Linked DNA regions of Homo sapiens: regions 2, 3, 4 and 5 are each linked to region 1. Evidence: promoter capture Hi-C in 16 types of primary human blood cells and fetal thymus (Javierre and others, 2016). All regions are on one chromosome and are shown on one strand. Each heading gives the region's core, a stretch centred on a gene start or on the middle of the fragment in contact. The rest is flanking DNA. Distances are from core to core; before and after follow the strand shown. Region 1 holds the start of SNHG1 (small nucleolar RNA host gene 1). Region 2 has its middle 11 kb from the start of SCGB1A1. Region 3 has its middle 4.9 kb from the start of AHNAK. Region 4 overlaps EEF1G (eukaryotic translation elongation factor 1 gamma). Region 5 holds the start of TUT1 (terminal uridylyl transferase 1, U6 snRNA-specific).

What was found. The method cuts DNA at HindIII sites, captures the fragments that hold promoters and counts their contacts. A CHiCAGO score of 5 or more calls a contact.
Region 2: a contact is called between a fragment that was not itself captured here and the fragment with the promoter of SNHG1 in region 1, in 6 of 17 cell types (naive B cells, total B cells, total CD8 T cells and 3 more). The highest score is 8.2, in naive B cells.
Region 3: a contact is called between a fragment that was not itself captured here and the fragment with the promoter of SNHG1 in region 1, in 7 of 17 cell types (activated CD4 T cells, naive B cells, total CD8 T cells and 4 more). The highest score is 7.7, in activated CD4 T cells.
Region 4: a contact is called between a fragment that was not itself captured here and the fragment with the promoter of SNHG1 in region 1, in 11 of 17 cell types (naive B cells, activated CD4 T cells, total B cells and 8 more). The highest score is 13.8, in naive B cells.
Region 5: the fragment with the promoter of TUT1 here is called in contact with the fragment with the promoter of SNHG1 in region 1 in 14 of 17 cell types (naive B cells, total CD8 T cells, naive CD4 T cells and 11 more); the score reaches 14.5 in naive B cells.

Annotation. Positions count from the first base shown.
Region 1 is chr11:62,854,508-62,857,384 of GRCh38, reverse strand. It overlaps SNHG1 (small nucleolar RNA host gene 1), which reads left to right and starts at 1,500. Exons shown (of 9, transcript NR_152585.1): 1 at 1,500-1,961; 2 at 2,169-2,252; 3 at 2,834-2,866. It overlaps SNORD28 (small nucleolar RNA, C/D box 28), which reads left to right and starts at 2,690; the gene lies at 2,690-2,764. SNORD27 (small nucleolar RNA, C/D box 27) reads left to right here and starts at 2,302; the gene lies at 2,302-2,373. SNORD26 (small nucleolar RNA, C/D box 26) reads left to right here and starts at 2,019; the gene lies at 2,019-2,093. It also overlaps SNORD25 and a transcript of SLC3A2 not described here. RefSeq lists enhancers at 1-444, 445-1,418, 1,387-1,566, 1,677-1,756, 2,394-2,877 and a silencer at 1,267-1,326. The HindIII fragment of the contact is 3,291 bases long and covers 1-2,785 here.
Region 2 is chr11:62,429,057-62,431,933 of GRCh38, reverse strand. No RefSeq gene overlaps it. Among named protein-coding and RNA genes, the nearest start is that of SCGB1A1, 11 kb to the right of the region's middle. The HindIII fragment of the contact is 7,397 bases long and covers 1-2,877 here.
Region 3 is chr11:62,550,258-62,553,134 of GRCh38, reverse strand. No RefSeq gene overlaps it. Among named protein-coding and RNA genes, the nearest start is that of AHNAK, 4.9 kb to the right of the region's middle. RefSeq lists enhancers at 353-1,158, 1,159-1,964. The HindIII fragment of the contact is 2,518 bases long and covers 271-2,788 here.
Region 4 is chr11:62,569,875-62,572,751 of GRCh38, reverse strand. EEF1G (eukaryotic translation elongation factor 1 gamma) reads left to right here. Exons shown (of 10, transcript NM_001404.5): 2 at 10-168; 3 at 851-914; 4 at 1,070-1,212; 5 at 1,644-1,787. Among named protein-coding and RNA genes, the nearest start is that of EEF1G, 2.6 kb to the left of the region's middle. The HindIII fragment of the contact is 3,344 bases long and covers 1-2,877 here.
Region 5 is chr11:62,590,066-62,592,942 of GRCh38, reverse strand. TUT1 (terminal uridylyl transferase 1, U6 snRNA-specific) reads left to right here and starts at 1,420. Exons shown (of 9, transcript NM_022830.3): 1 at 1,420-1,539. The coding sequence starts at 1,458. RefSeq lists enhancers at 1,269-1,498, 915-1,610. The HindIII fragment of the contact is 7,198 bases long and covers 1-2,877 here.

The sequences.
Region 1 (2,877 bases), core at 251-2,750:
TGGGAGGCTGAGGCAGGAGGTCACCTGAGGTCAGTAGTTCGAGAGCAGCCTGGCCAACATGATGAAACCCCGTCTCTCCGAAAAACACAAAAATTAGTGTGGCATGATGATGGCGGGAGCCTGTAATCCCAGCTACTCAGGAGGCTGAGGAAGGAGAATCGCTTGAACCTGGGAAGCGGAGGTTGCAGTGAACAGACATCCCGCCACTGCACTCCAGCCTGGGCGACAGAGCAAGCCTCCGTCTTGAAAGAAAAAAATGTTTGGCCGGGCGCGGTGGCTCACGCCTGTAATCCCAGCACTTTGGGAGGCCGAGGCAGGCGGATCACCCGAGGTCAGGAGTTCAAGACCGGCCTGACCAACATGGAGAAACCCTGTCTCTACTAAAAATACAAAATTAGCCGGTCACAGTGGCGCATGCCTGTAATCCCAGCTACTCAGGAGGCTGAGGCAGGAGAATTGCTTGAACCCGGGAGGTGGAATGCAGTGAGCTGAGATCGGGCCATTGCATTCCAGCCTGGGCAACAAGAGCGAAACTCCGTCTCAAAAAAAAAAAAAAAGAAAGAAAAAAATGTTTATAAAGTGTGCTTGTACACGTAGATGTTTACCACAAACGACTGAACTAATGTTGTCCGGTCTCAGTAAAACAGTCTATAGCTGACTGCAACCATATTGATCAGGCAGGAGTTGCAGCAGGCAGCACCGCCGGAGCTCTTTAGGGTTCCCCATCAATAAAATGGGGGTTGTCATCCTACCTAGCTCTTGGGATTTTGGTGGATTAATCGATTCATATAGTGTGCTTAAAACGGTGCTCCATAAATGTTAGCTAATGTTGGCCCGTAGTAGTCCAAGATCTAAAGAAAACGCACCAGAAGGCAGGACATAGGGAACCAGTTAGGAAAAAATCAGATCCTGTCTTCAGTGAAGCACTTACGTCCTGACATACTTTCCCGAAATGGCCCCACCAAAGGGGACCTCCTCCCGAGCTTAGCCCGGGATCCAGTACCTGAGTCGTCCCCCGCGCTGAGACCCTGGACACCAGCCTCCGAATGTGAGCCAGGCAACTGGCGCGGAATCGACACGACGGCGATCGAGGCTTCAGGAGGCTGTAGCTCCATGGAGGCGGATCCTGCACACAGGTTTGGGGTGTGTGGGCAAGGGGCAGCTCAGAACAGGGTTAGAGGGTAGGCAGTCGTGACCGTCAGTCCAGGATCGCCGTGAGGCAGTGATCTCACCGCTCCTGCCACATGCACTGGGTGAGAAAACCAAGCCGCAATGCGGTCGGTGAGCCAGCACGCTCCCGTAGGACGCATGCGCGCCTTTTTCGCGCCGCAAGTTCAGGTGGCGCTTTGTCTACGCCCTCCTTCCCTGGAACTCTCTACCCACAACTCCCCGGGGTCGCATGCGGTCAACGTATGCGCGTGCGCTCGCCGTAGCCCCGCCCCCAAATCCCGTGGGCCTCTGCGGCATGGTATTTAATCGTCTCCCCGGGGAGATTCGTTCTCATTTTTCTACTGCTCGTGGTAAGTGGCTTCGTGGTCTTTATAGCTGTTACTCTTTTGTACTTTGTCTTTTTCTTTTATTTTCTTTTGAGCGATTGTGCGAACATAGCATAGCACGCACTATGCCTTCTGTGTTGTAGCTGCCTGGCCAGGGCGACTGGCGGATAAGGTCTTGTGCGTGGCCTCGAGGCTTAAAAGTAGCAGTGGGGCTTTGTGAAGGACAAAATGGCGATGGCGGGCCGTGTAGGTCCCCCTTCCTATGATGAGGACCTTTTCACAGACCTGTACTGAGCTCCGTGAGGATAAATAACTCTGAGGAGATGGGCCCTGCAAGCCTCTTGCTTAGCCGTCTGTTCAGAAAATAGCGTTTTCGAAATGCCCTGAGTTGACCTAATGTCTTATTGGGCTCCTGTCTGCAGGATTTACGCGCACGTTGGAACCGAAGAGAGCTCTGTTGTTGCAGTAAGTTCTTACGGCCATTTCTTAATCTCTGCTCTTTCGTTGAGTGTGTGGAAGTTGCTACGGGGATGATTTTACGAACTGAACTCTCTCTTTCTGATGGATTAGTGGAGAAAACAGAAAATTCTGAGTAGCACTGTACTGTACGCAACAAATGTCAGGGCCCTATTGATTTGTCTGAGGTGTTAGTGAAGGGTGTTATTTTTTCAGATGTTCAGCCCACAAGAGCTTACTGGTGAAGGAATGGGACAAGACCCATCTTTATGCAAAGCCAGCGTTACAGTAATGTTCCAGGTAGGTGTACATGGTTTATGCTCTTACAGAGGAGACCTTGTAGATAACCACTCCATGATGAACACAAAATGACAAGCATATGGCTGAACTTTCAAGTGATGTCATCTTACTACTGAGAAGTGAGAGAGAGGTCTTAAGGGGTCTTTGAATGACTATTTTTAGGTACATAAAATGCTTTCCTCTGTTGTCTACAGCATCTCATAATCTATCCTGGGGAATTCAGCTGCCTCCCAGGGTGAATACAGGTAATTATCCAAATTGGTGTATGTCATCTTTGTAAATGTTCAAGAAAACAAGTGGCCGGCGGAACAATGTTTTTTGGCGCCTTCCATCTTGTTCCTCTTGAAATGATTTTCTGGGGAGGGAGATCGCAACCCGGTACTACAGTTCTTGTAAGGGTGTGCTGTTACCCTCATCCATATATCGATCACGTTACTGTCAGATGATTTGAATTGATAAGCTGATGTTCTGTGAGGTACAAAAGTTAATAGCATGTTAGAGTTCTGATGGCAGTTGTTGTTTATGAATAAGCTTCATTCCATCCTAATACCTTAAAATAACTAATTTGCTTTCCTTTCCAGGTATTCCTGATGACAGTCTGCCTCTATCTTACAGTAAGTTGTTT
Region 2 (2,877 bases), core at 251-2,750, 430 kb after region 1:
AAGTGAGACTCCGTCTCAAAAAAAAAAAAAAAAAGGTCTCGAGTCCTGTAATATACTTAATTTACTGTCTTGGCTTCCACCTTGGTTTCAATTTTTCCACTAGAGGGTCAAAAGTAGAATCCTGCTGCTCTGATCAAGTACTTGACGCAGATGTACATTCGAATGATTTATTTTCCTTTTGCTTTCTTGGGTTTTCTAATTTTTCTACAATGAGTGGCAAGATAACTAAAATGTGAATCATGCCTTCATAGGACTCACATTCTAGAGAAGGCAACAGTTAGAAGCAAACATGCTATAGTAAGATAAATACATGATTTATCCCACTGTAAATACATGCCCCAGATTAGGGGCGTGGAAGCTCAGCAGCAGAAAGAGCCCCTGAACCTCAGGGCACAAAGTGCTGGGTAGGGAGAACAGGGAGAAAGAGCCCACAGACTAAGTCGTGAAAGAATCTGAAGGGGGCCAGACTTAGCAAATGAAATACAGTATGCCCGTTAAGTGTGCATTTTAGATAAATAATGAAACAATTTTTAGTATAAGCATGTCCCAAGTGAGTCATGAAGGATGGAGTTTGGTTCTTCCAGGGACTTTGGGAAGGGAAAGCATTTCAGTTAGCGGGAACTGTTTCTGCAAAAGTGTGGAAGTGTGAATGGCATGGATTTGTTGCCTGTTTCAAATGTGAACGTCTGTGCCTCGACATGAATCGACAAGCCTTACTCAGAGGGCAGTTTTATTTCCGAGCATCATCCACTGCTGCACCCTCAAAGTGAAGGGTAGGTGGGAAGCAGCAGGATTTGAGGCCACAGTGGGAAGCAGGGCCACCATCTCCAGGAGCCTTTGATGATGGGTGAGGGGTTTGGACTTTATCCAACAGGGGACCAGGAAGAGGGAAGGATTTTAAGCAAAAGCATGAACTTCCTGTTTGATTTTTGGCAATCATGGGAAGGAAGTAAGACTAAAATCTTAGAGACTATTTAGGAGGCAGATTAACGGCCCCTCAAGGATCTCCACGTCCTAATCCCCAGACCCTGTGCATGTGTTAGGTTACCTGGCAAGAGAGAATTAGGGTTGCACATGGATGAAGGTTTCTCATCAGCTGACCGTGAGAGGGGAGGTTGTTTTGGAGTATCTGATGGGCCCAGTGTAATCACAGAGATCCTTATGAATGGAAGTGGGAGGCAGAAGAGGAGATCAGTGTCGGAGAGAGAATTGCAGAGGCTGCCCTGCTGACTTTGAAGATGGGGAAGGGGCCATGAGCCAAGTAATGCGGGTGGCCTTTAGAAAATGGAAAAAACAAGGAGACAGATTCTCCCCTGGAGACTCCAGAAAGAATGCAGCCTGCCAACACCTTGGTTTTTAGCCCAGTGAAATGCATTTCAGACATCTGGCCTCCAGAACGAGAAGATCATAAATTTGTGTGTTTTTAAGTTATTAAGTCTGTGGTAAGTTGTTACAGCAGCCATAGAAACTAATGTAGAGGCTGTTTGCAATGATCCAGGTCACAGATGGTGAAGGCTTGGAATTGGCAATAGGGTCAAGAGAAGGGGATAAGGGCTGGGCACGGTGGCTCACGCCTGTAATCCCAACACTTTGGGAGGCAGAGGCTGGCAGATCATTTGAGTCCAGGAGTTTGAGACCAGCCTGGCCAACATGGCGAAAACCCGTATCTATGAAAAAAAATACAAAAATTAGCTGGGCATGGTGGTGTGCGCCTGTCATCCCAGCTACTCAGGAGGCTGAGGGAGGAGGATTGCTTGAGCCTGGGAGGCGGAGGTTGCAGTGAGCAGTGATTGCAACCTTGCACTCCAGCCTGGGTGACAGAGTGAGACCCTATCTCAAAAATAAATAAATAAAAAAAAATAAAGGGATCAATTCCATGTAAGTTGAGATGGACTCAGAGACCGACTGGACGCCTAAGGTCAGGAGGTCAGGAGATCCCCCAGCCCAGCAACCCTTTCTCCTCTCCTGATGCCCCAAGGCCTGCTCCTCCTTCCACAGCTCCCAGGGAGCCTCTGATCAAGTCTCTATCCTGTCCCAGGGCTGATTAGTACCTACTTTTGTGACAGGGGCCTAACAGGGAATTCTTTTTCATTTTTATTTTTGAGATGGAGTCTCATTCTGTCACCCAGGCTGGAGTGCAGTGGTGTGATCTCGGCTTACTGCAACCTCGGCTCACTACAACTTCCGCCTCTGCAACCTCTGCCACTGCAACTTCTGCCTCCTGGGTTCAAGTGATTCTCTTGCCTCAGCTGTAGCGGGGACTACAGGCATGCGCCATCATGCCCGGGTAATTTTTGTATTACTAGTAGAGATGGGGTTTTGCCATGTTGGCCAGGCTGGTCTCGAACTCCTGACCTCAGGTGATCCGCCTGCCTCAGCCTCCCACAGTGGCTTGAGCCACTGCACCCAGCCCTAAGAGGGAACTCTAAAGGAAGCTCTGTAGGTATCTGCCTCGTGGTTACACACACAGGGTGGCTGTGAAACCGCCTTTGCAAAAATTACAACTGAGGAAATTATGACAGTGAAAGAGATCAGACCTAACCGACTCCATCTTCCTTCTAACCTTTAAGCTGTCCTTGTTCATTCCTGGGCATAGGCCTGAACTAACTTTGGGAAGGAATTCAGTTCATGTTTTGACTCTGAAACAAAATTGATAATAGCCATTTCCCTAAAAAAAACCCCATTCTTGCCTGTGGACCAGTCTGCCTTTGCAAGACTAACAAATTAGCTACAAGATTAGAAATTTAGTTTAGCGGTCATGCAGCCTCTGGCTCCAAGAGTCTGAGCCTCCCCAGATTGCTCCTGCAGATAACATCACTATTGTAAAACCTAAGATCAGTGCTTGAGATAGTTTGCAGACCCTGCATTCGATGGATC
Region 3 (2,877 bases), core at 280-2,779, 300 kb after region 1:
GCCTGAAATCCAGCCATGACCCATCGTGTCCACCTGCCCCACTCTCCCTGCCCAATTTCTTTCCCTTCCACCTGCCTGGACAGTCTTTCTTTGCCTTCTTTCCTCCCAGACGGTACTCTGGAGACAGCCTCATGTCTCTTGTTCTCTAACCAGCTTTAACTTGGGTTCTGGTTGGGCTTGAAGATTTCATTAGGACTGAGTGTAATTGGAGAGTTTCTGTGTATCAAAGCTCTCTGATCTAAGAAATTCAGGAACTCCTTATTTGAAGCTTGAAGTTTAAATACAGGCTGGGATTTGAATTGAGCTGGGGAAGGATGATTTTACTTGGCTTTATATTTTCGGCTAGGGTTAAGGGTTTGGGGCTTGAGAATTGCTTAGGAAATAATGTTTGGATTCCAGAATCACCAGATAGATTTGCTTTTGGGGGGTGGGGTGGACAATGACAGATTAGGAAGTGACGGAAGTGAATGGAGAAGGGCCTGTTTGGCAGGGATGCTAATCCCTGGGCTGGTGTGTGTATGGGGTGGAGGCGGGGTCTGGGAGATCCCAGATGGTGCTAAGAAGGGTTAACAGTCATTTCTTTGCTGCTGCTGCTGCTTTTTTTTTTTTTTTTTTTGAGACAGAGTTTTGCTCTTCTTGCCCATGCTGGAGTGCAATGGCGCAATCTCGGCTCACTGTAACCTCCGCCTCTCAGGTTCAAGCAATTCTTCTGCCTCAGCCTCCCGAGTAGCTGGGATTACAGGCGTGCACCACCACGTCCGGCTAATTTTGTATTTTTTGTAGAGACGGGGTTTCACCAGGTTGGTCAGGCTGGTCTCGAGCTGCTGACCTCAAGTGATCCACCCGCCTTGGCCTCCCAAAGTGCTGGGATTACAGGCGTGAGCCACCAGGCACAGCCCATTTTTCTGCTTCTAAGAATATCATGCAAAAGAACCTTCATGGGGGGAAAAGTCTGCTTCTAAAGAGACTGCAAACAGACCACACACTTCATTTGCCTTCTGGGATCAGAAACTGAGATTACCCTTTGAGCAGTCAACCTCTTTTCTTCCTTGTAACATGCTGATTTCAGAAAAGGGGACTGTGGAGAGAAGGGAGGGGAAGGGGAATCCCCTGGCCAGGGGCCTGCCCACAGAGCTCCCCTTTGTGGTTACTATGGAAACAGGCATAATAGGAACAAAATAGAGGCAGGTTGCCTGGCAACAGAAGAGCCCAAGGTTCATTACAGACGCGCGCACACACACACAAACTGACATATACACACACACGCAAAACAGGTACATATCAGGGAACCTCCCCCACTCCCCAGGGAGGCAGTGTCACTTCTGGGGAAGCTGGGGTATCCCTGTGATGACAAGTCCTAGAGCTCATCCAGCTTTGGCAGTGCGTGTGGAGCACTGTGGTACCAGCTCCCTCTGAATGGTGGTGGAGCACTAGCGGCAGGGCTGACCTCCCTCTTATAAGAGGAAAGCCTTTACTTTATATCACAGAGGAGTCTAAACCTTCGAGAAGATGGAGGTTTTCTTTGCAAAGTAGGGACCGAAAGAACTCCTTAATACTCCTTATAAAACATGGTGTGTAAAAACAAACAAAAAACAGGCCAGGTGTGGTGGCTCACGCTTGTAATCCCAGCACTTTGGGAGGCTGAGGCAAGCGGATCATGAGGTCAGGAGTTCGAGACCAGCCTGGCTAGCATGGTGAAACTCCGTCTCTACTAAAAATACAAAAATTAGCCAGGCGTGGTGGCGCGTGCCTATAATCCCAGCTACTTGGGAGGCTGAGGCAGGAGAATCGTTTGAACCCAGGAGGCAGAGGTTGCAGTGAGCCAAGATGAGCCAAGATCGTGTCACTGCACTCCAGCCTGGGCGACAGAGCTAGACTCCATCTCAAAACAACCACCACCACCACCACCACAACAACAAAACAACAAAAACACCCAAAACATAGTGTGTCGGGGGGGTGCTGGCGGGGGAGTAGCTGTGTAAATTACCTGGTAGGAAAGATAACTCCAATTCTCTGGAGGCATAGGACCTCCAAGGAATTCAAAGGACAAGGTAAAGGGGTATCGGAGCCGTTTCCGCCTGGACTGAGCTTTTTGCTGGGATTCCATCTTGCCAAGGTCTCTATTGCTTCCACCACCACCACAGTTCCCCAACCCCATATTGGACACACAATAAATGTTTGGGTAGCTGCAAGAAAGACCCACAAGTAGAGGAATTGCTCCCTGGGGGCTGAGAGCCAGAGGAAGTTGTGACAGCCTGGGATGCAGGATGCTATCTATTGTAGAAAAGGCAAGGGCTTTGGAGCCAGTTATACCTGGAGTTCATTCATTCATTTGAAACATGCTCTTGAGTGATTGCTATGTGTCAGTCAGTGCTCTAGGCATGAGGGGCCAGGGTGCGGTGGCTCACACCTATAATCCCAGCACTTTGGGAGGCTGAGGTGGGAGGATTGCTCAAGCCCAGGAGTTCAAGACCAGCCTGGGCAACATAGTGAGACCCTATCTCTACCAAAAAAAAAAAAAAAAATTAGCTGAGCATGATGGTGTGTGTCTGTAGTCCCAGCTACTTGGGAGACTAAGGTGGGAGGATCACTTGAGCTTGAGAGGTTGAGGCTGCAGTGAGCCATGAATGCTCCACTGCACTCCATCCTGGGCGACAGAGTGAGACTGTCTCAAAAAAAAACAAGCAAAAAACCAAAACAAAACAAAAAATCAGTTAATCTAGGCACAAAGCATACAGCAGAGAAGAAAGAACCCTGTCCTCATGAGGCTTAAATGCTAGCGGAAGCTTTGACTCTTGCCTCTGTGAGTTGTGTGATTTTAGGTAAATCACGAACCCTTTCTGAGACCATTCCTCACTAAGTGCCTCCCTCCCAGGG
Region 4 (2,877 bases), core at 225-2,724, 280 kb after region 1:
CTCCCATAGACCCTGTACACGTATCCTGAAAACTGGAGGGCCTTCAAGGCTCTCATCGCTGCTCAGTACAGCGGGGCTCAGGTCCGCGTGCTCTCCGCACCACCCCACTTCCATTTTGGCCAAACCAACCGCACCCCTGAATTTCTCCGCAAATTTCCTGCCGGCAAGGTGAGTTGGGAGATGGGGAGCATCCTTCGGTTCTGAGAAACCAAGGCCCTGCGATTCTGTCACTCTGGTGGTGGCCCCCATCTCTAAAAGGGAGCTTCCCATGTTGTTTTATTCAATTTCGGTGATTTTATTTTGAGATAAATACAGATTTACATGTAGTTGTGAAAAAAAATACAGAGCTATTCTGTGACTTTATAAAATTCACGAGTTTACTTTGTGGGAAAGAGAATGAGTTTTGACTAAGCATTTTCAGTGCAAATATATCAGATATCTGTTATGAGCAGAATTCTTACCCCAAGGGGTTTATAGAGATAGGTGAAGAAACATGCTAAGAATGGAGGAGATGAAGTGCTGTGTGGGTCTGGGTCACACACTAATACTTTAACTGATACAGACATTGATACAGGAGTTGCTTTTGGCCTTCTGCTTGTTTGATCCAGAGATTTCATACAAATATCCTGTAATATTCAAATCTATTGGGCTTCCTAGTTAACATTGTGAATTCAGATTGCAAAGGAGGCCAAGTTCTTGAAGTATTTATTTATGGTTCTTGAGTATCAAGAGTTTGGATAGTGAGAATCATCAGCCTTATATAAGTATTTTCAAAGCAGTTTGGCTCCTGGTATTGGTTAGGAAGAAATTTTGTGTGTTTTACCTTATCTTTTCACTGCTTTGTCCCCAGGTCCCAGCATTTGAGGGTGATGATGGATTCTGTGTGTTTGAGAGCAACGCCATTGCCTACTATGGTAATTTGCAGGGGTATATGGGAATGGGAGAATTTGGAGGTGAGGGTGTAGGAGAGGATAAGTGTGAGCGGGGGTGGATATGAAGGAATTCTCCAGGACCTGGACTGGTGTTGGCATTCCCCCAGAGTTCTGACCTTCGTGTTCTGCCTCTGCAGTGAGCAATGAGGAGCTGCGGGGAAGTACTCCAGAGGCAGCAGCCCAGGTGGTGCAGTGGGTGAGCTTTGCTGATTCCGATATAGTGCCCCCAGCCAGTACCTGGGTGTTCCCCACCTTGGGCATCATGCACCACAACAAACAGGTGAGCCTTGGAACTTTGAGAGAAGCCAGGGGCAGGGGTGGCATCAGCTCCTGGGTGTTGGGAGTAAGAAATAAAATAGGTTGAAAAAAAGATGCCAAGGATATGTAGGCAATGAGAAGACGTAATCTCTAGGGTACGAGTTTGAAGCAGTGGGCAGTTGATGGAGGAAGTGTCTGTCATGAGTGATCAGAAGAGGGATTGCTGCTGTGAAGAGATTATACCAAATGGTAAGGGGGTGGCTGGACCAGAGGACCTCTGAAGTTCATTGTTTGTAATACATTTAGAATGACCCTAGGATCTGCCTCCATTGAAAGAGAGTGAGGGTGAGCTCAGACTTCTAGGTGAAAATAGCCCTCTTAGTTCTATTAATGGGGGAGGTGAGGGAAAGGGATTGGTACCCACTGATGAGTTTTATCATGTTGAATCACTAGGCCACTGAGAATGCAAAGGAGGAAGTGAGGCGAATTCTGGGGCTGCTGGATGCTTACTTGAAGACGAGGACTTTTCTGGTGGGCGAACGAGTGACATTGGCTGACATCACAGTTGTCTGCACCCTGTTGTGGCTCTATAAGCAGGTGAAGTTTATGGAAAATCCATTTGGCAGTGGGTAGATGGGGATTAGAAACAAAGTGACGAGGTATCTAGGTTACCCTGTATTCTGCTGAGGACTTGGAAAACAGCTAGAGGTGGGTGCAGTGGCTCATGCCTGTAATCCGAGCACACTGGGGGGCCGAGGTAGGCAGATCACCTGAGGTCAGGAGTTTGAGACCAGCCTGGCCAACATGGTAAAACCCTGTCTCTACTAAAAATACAAAAAATTAGCCAGGTGTGGTGGCGCACACCTATAGCCCCAGCTACTTGGGAGGCTGAGGCACAAGAATCACTTGAATCTGGGAGGTGGAGGTTGCAGTGAGCAGCGATCGCCCCACTGCACTCCAGCCTGGGTGAGAGTGAGACTTCGTGTCAAAACAAACAAAAAACAGCCAGGAATCCCAGGACTGAGTACCATCACTTGCTTTCCATTCTCTTAAGAAGCTGGGTAATGTCTTGCCTTTAGTTTCTGTTTGGCAGCTAAGATGTTTAGTTTGTTGCCATATTTCCTGGGAAGATTGGTTATTCTTAGTTGTGAAGACAGAGGTGATGATGGTAGCTTCAGCATTAAGATCTTTTTGGAGGCAGGCCAGGCACTGTGTCTAACACCTATAATCCCAGCACTTTGGGAGGCCTAGGCGGGTGGATCACTTGAGGTCAGGAGTTCGAGACCATCCTGGCCAGCATGGCGAAACCCTGTCTCTATTAAAAATACGAAAATTAGCCGGGCGTGGTGGTAGGAGCCTGTAATCCCAGCTACTTGGGAGGCTGAGGCAGGAGAATGGCTTGAACCCAGGAGGTGGAGGTAGCAGTGAGCCAAGATCCAGCTACTGTGCTCCAGCCTGGGGGACAAGAGCGAGACTCCATCTCAAAAAAAAAAAAAAAGCTCTTTAAGCTCTTTTGGAGACAGATACAGGTTCAAGCCTTGGCTTCATTGTTTACCAATGTAGGTAAGGGGTTATATGCGGGTGAATTCCTTTAGTCCTGTTTTTTACTCTTTGCAATCTATAAAATCAGGGTAGTAATAATCACTGTCAAGGTTATTGGGTCAAAAAAGAATGACAAGTCACTGGT
Region 5 (2,877 bases), core at 171-2,670, 260 kb after region 1:
TTCTGGATGACTGGTGGCCTCCATAGGAAAGGGGAATGGGGGTGTTTCTTCCTCTGTTTCCCACCTCTTACTCCCCTCTCCCTTTTGTTTAAGGAATTCTGGAAGTTGCTAGCAGCCAGGGTAACATGTATACCCCCTTGGGGGTGGTGGTGGGGTTATAGGAGGATCCCCTCACCTAGCTGTGTGGTGTATTTGGCAGACGAGAATTCTACCACTGAACCACCCTAGCACCTCTGGGTGTATGTGTACAGCCTGCTGCTTCAGGATCCTCAAGGCCAGTCTCGATGATATCCCGATCCACTGTAGCACTGTTTCCTGCCTTAAAGGTTTGGGACACTGAGATTAGATGCCTGAGCTGGGCCCATTAGAAGGAACACCTTAGGATAGAGAACAAGAAGTTCAGCCTGCTGTGTGCTCCTTGGGCACTTCCTTTAGAGATGGGAAACGGCCTCAACAGTTGTGACTTGTTCAAGGTCAAAGACCTTGGTGTCTGCCTTAGGTCCACTGCTCTTTGCGCCATTCAAAGCTGTGGGCTGATAACCACAGCACAAGCTGCTGAGCCCATCTGATAGTTCTCTCCACCTCGTTATGGTCCCTGTCCCTAGGGCATCCCCAGCTCCCCGTAGTCCCTCCCTGTCCTGAGCCTACACCTCGGCGGCGTTGGGATGAACTGACAATTATACCAGGAGGGGGTTGACAGCATTCGCCCCCTCCAGTGTCTAAACTCAGTTACTGGCACTCGGTTTTGTCTTGTCGCACTGCTCTGAGGTGCGCCAGTAGCTCTGGCGCCTCCGGCGTACACCACGCAGCCCACTACTGCGGAAGGAATGGGCCTGGCTCCAGGACCTCGTGGAGTCCGGAAGGTGCCCGGTGGTGGCAGAGCTCCCCAACCAGGGCTAGAAGCCGTCGCAGAACACCCGTTTTGCGGGAGGACAGGGGGCGGAGGGAGGGAGTAACAGCCCTGAAAAGGTTGGAAGTCCAGGGACAGCCCTGGGCTCCGTGGGGCAAAGAATTGGAAGCCGCCGATCCTCCGCCTTTATTCGTCGGGTAAATAAGGGTCGAGGGTACAGACGCACGGGTGTCTACTGCGGGGTGAAGGAGCTGCCGCAAGATGCCACCCGGCGCCGGCCTTTGTGGCTGCTGTCATGAATATTCACGATGCTTTGGGCCAATCAACGTCTGAACAGCTTAAAGCACACCAATCGGCTTACCGCATGCAGATAAGCATCGTAACGCGCCGCTTTTCCTGAAACGGGCGGGGACTGGACAGCGGCTAGAAACGGAACCCAGAGTCGAAGGAGCTTGGTTTCCGGAGGAGTGTGTCCGCGCAATTGAACGACTTTATGTCACTTCCTATCGGATCGGCGGAAGTTGCTTCCGAGCGCGTTGAGCTTTGGCGAAGTGGGTTCCGGTGGTGGCAGAGGTGCTTGTGTTTTTGTCGGTACAGGAGAGTCGCTATGGCGGCGGTGGATTCGGATGTCGAATCGCTGCCGCGTGGGGGGTTCCGCTGCTGCCTCTGCCACGTTACTACAGCCAACCGTAAGCGGTGGCTAGTGAGGGACCCGGGGGTGGTTGCGGGCTTTCGTCTTTTGATCCTGGCGAAAGTTAGGGTTATAGGTAGTCAGTCGTTCTTGTCAAGTTGATTGGTAGGGTCTCTCACCTCCGTTTTTCTCTGCAAGTCCGAGGGGATTTGGAGAGTCGGGAAAGTTCCACCACATTACACTCCTCAGTATATGAAATCTCCACAACGCAAGTTTAATTGTTTTATTACTTCTTTAACCATCATCTATTGGACATATGCTCTGTGCCTGGTATTCTGCTGATCTTTAGGGTGGGGGAGGGGGGTTCAGAGATGAAGGAGCTCACCGTCTAGAGAATGAGAAAGTTTCAATGCTTTATAGATATGTTCGGAGAACTGTGGGACCACAGAGAATTAGTAACTAAATCAGAGAAGCCCTACAGAGGACCTACTCAAAGGAGGGGATGGATGAAATAGGTGTGGCATGAATGACTAGACCATAAGGTACCAGTGAGGAAGAGACAGAAGATGGGTTTGGAAAAATAGACAAGGTTCTTGTATGACACACAAGGGGTTCACTGTAACTTCAAATTCCACTTTTTTTTTTTTTTTGAGACAAGGTCTTGCTCTGTCACCCAGGCTGCAGTGCGGTGGTGTGATCTTGGCTCACTGCAGCCTCAACCTCCCGGGCTCAAACCATACCCCTGGCTAGCCTCCCAAGTAGTTGAGTCTACAGGTGTGCACCACCATACTTGGCTAATTTCTTTTTTCTTTTTTTTTTTTTTTTGAGACAGAGTCTCACTCTGTCACCCAGGCTGGAGTGCAGTGGCACGATCTTGGCTCACTGCAAGCTCCACCTCCTGGGTTCACCCCATTCTCCTGCCTCAGCCTCCCGTGTAGCCGGGACTACAGGCACCCGCCACCACGCCCGGCTAATTTTTTGTATTTTTTAGTAGAGACGAGGTTTCACCATGTTAGTCAGGATGGTCTCGATCTCCTGACCTCGTGACCCGCCCGCCTCGGCCTCCCAAAGTGCCGGGATTACAGGCCTGAGCCACCGCGCCCGGCCTACTTGGCAAATTTTTTAGTTTTTTGTAGAGATGGGTTTTCACCATGTTGCCTAGGCTGGTCTCCAATTCCTGGCCTCAAGCGATCTTCCCATCTTGGCCTCCCAAAGTGCTGGGATTACAGGCGTGAGCCAATGTGCCCAGCCCTACTTTTGAAGTCTGGAATCACAGTGTTCCCTAAACAGGGTTTACTTCCATTCTTCCTTTTCACTGTGAATGGCACTATCACTGTTCATCCAGTAAGCCAAGCCAGAAACCTAGGAGTCTTCTTTGGCCCCACATTTACTTTGG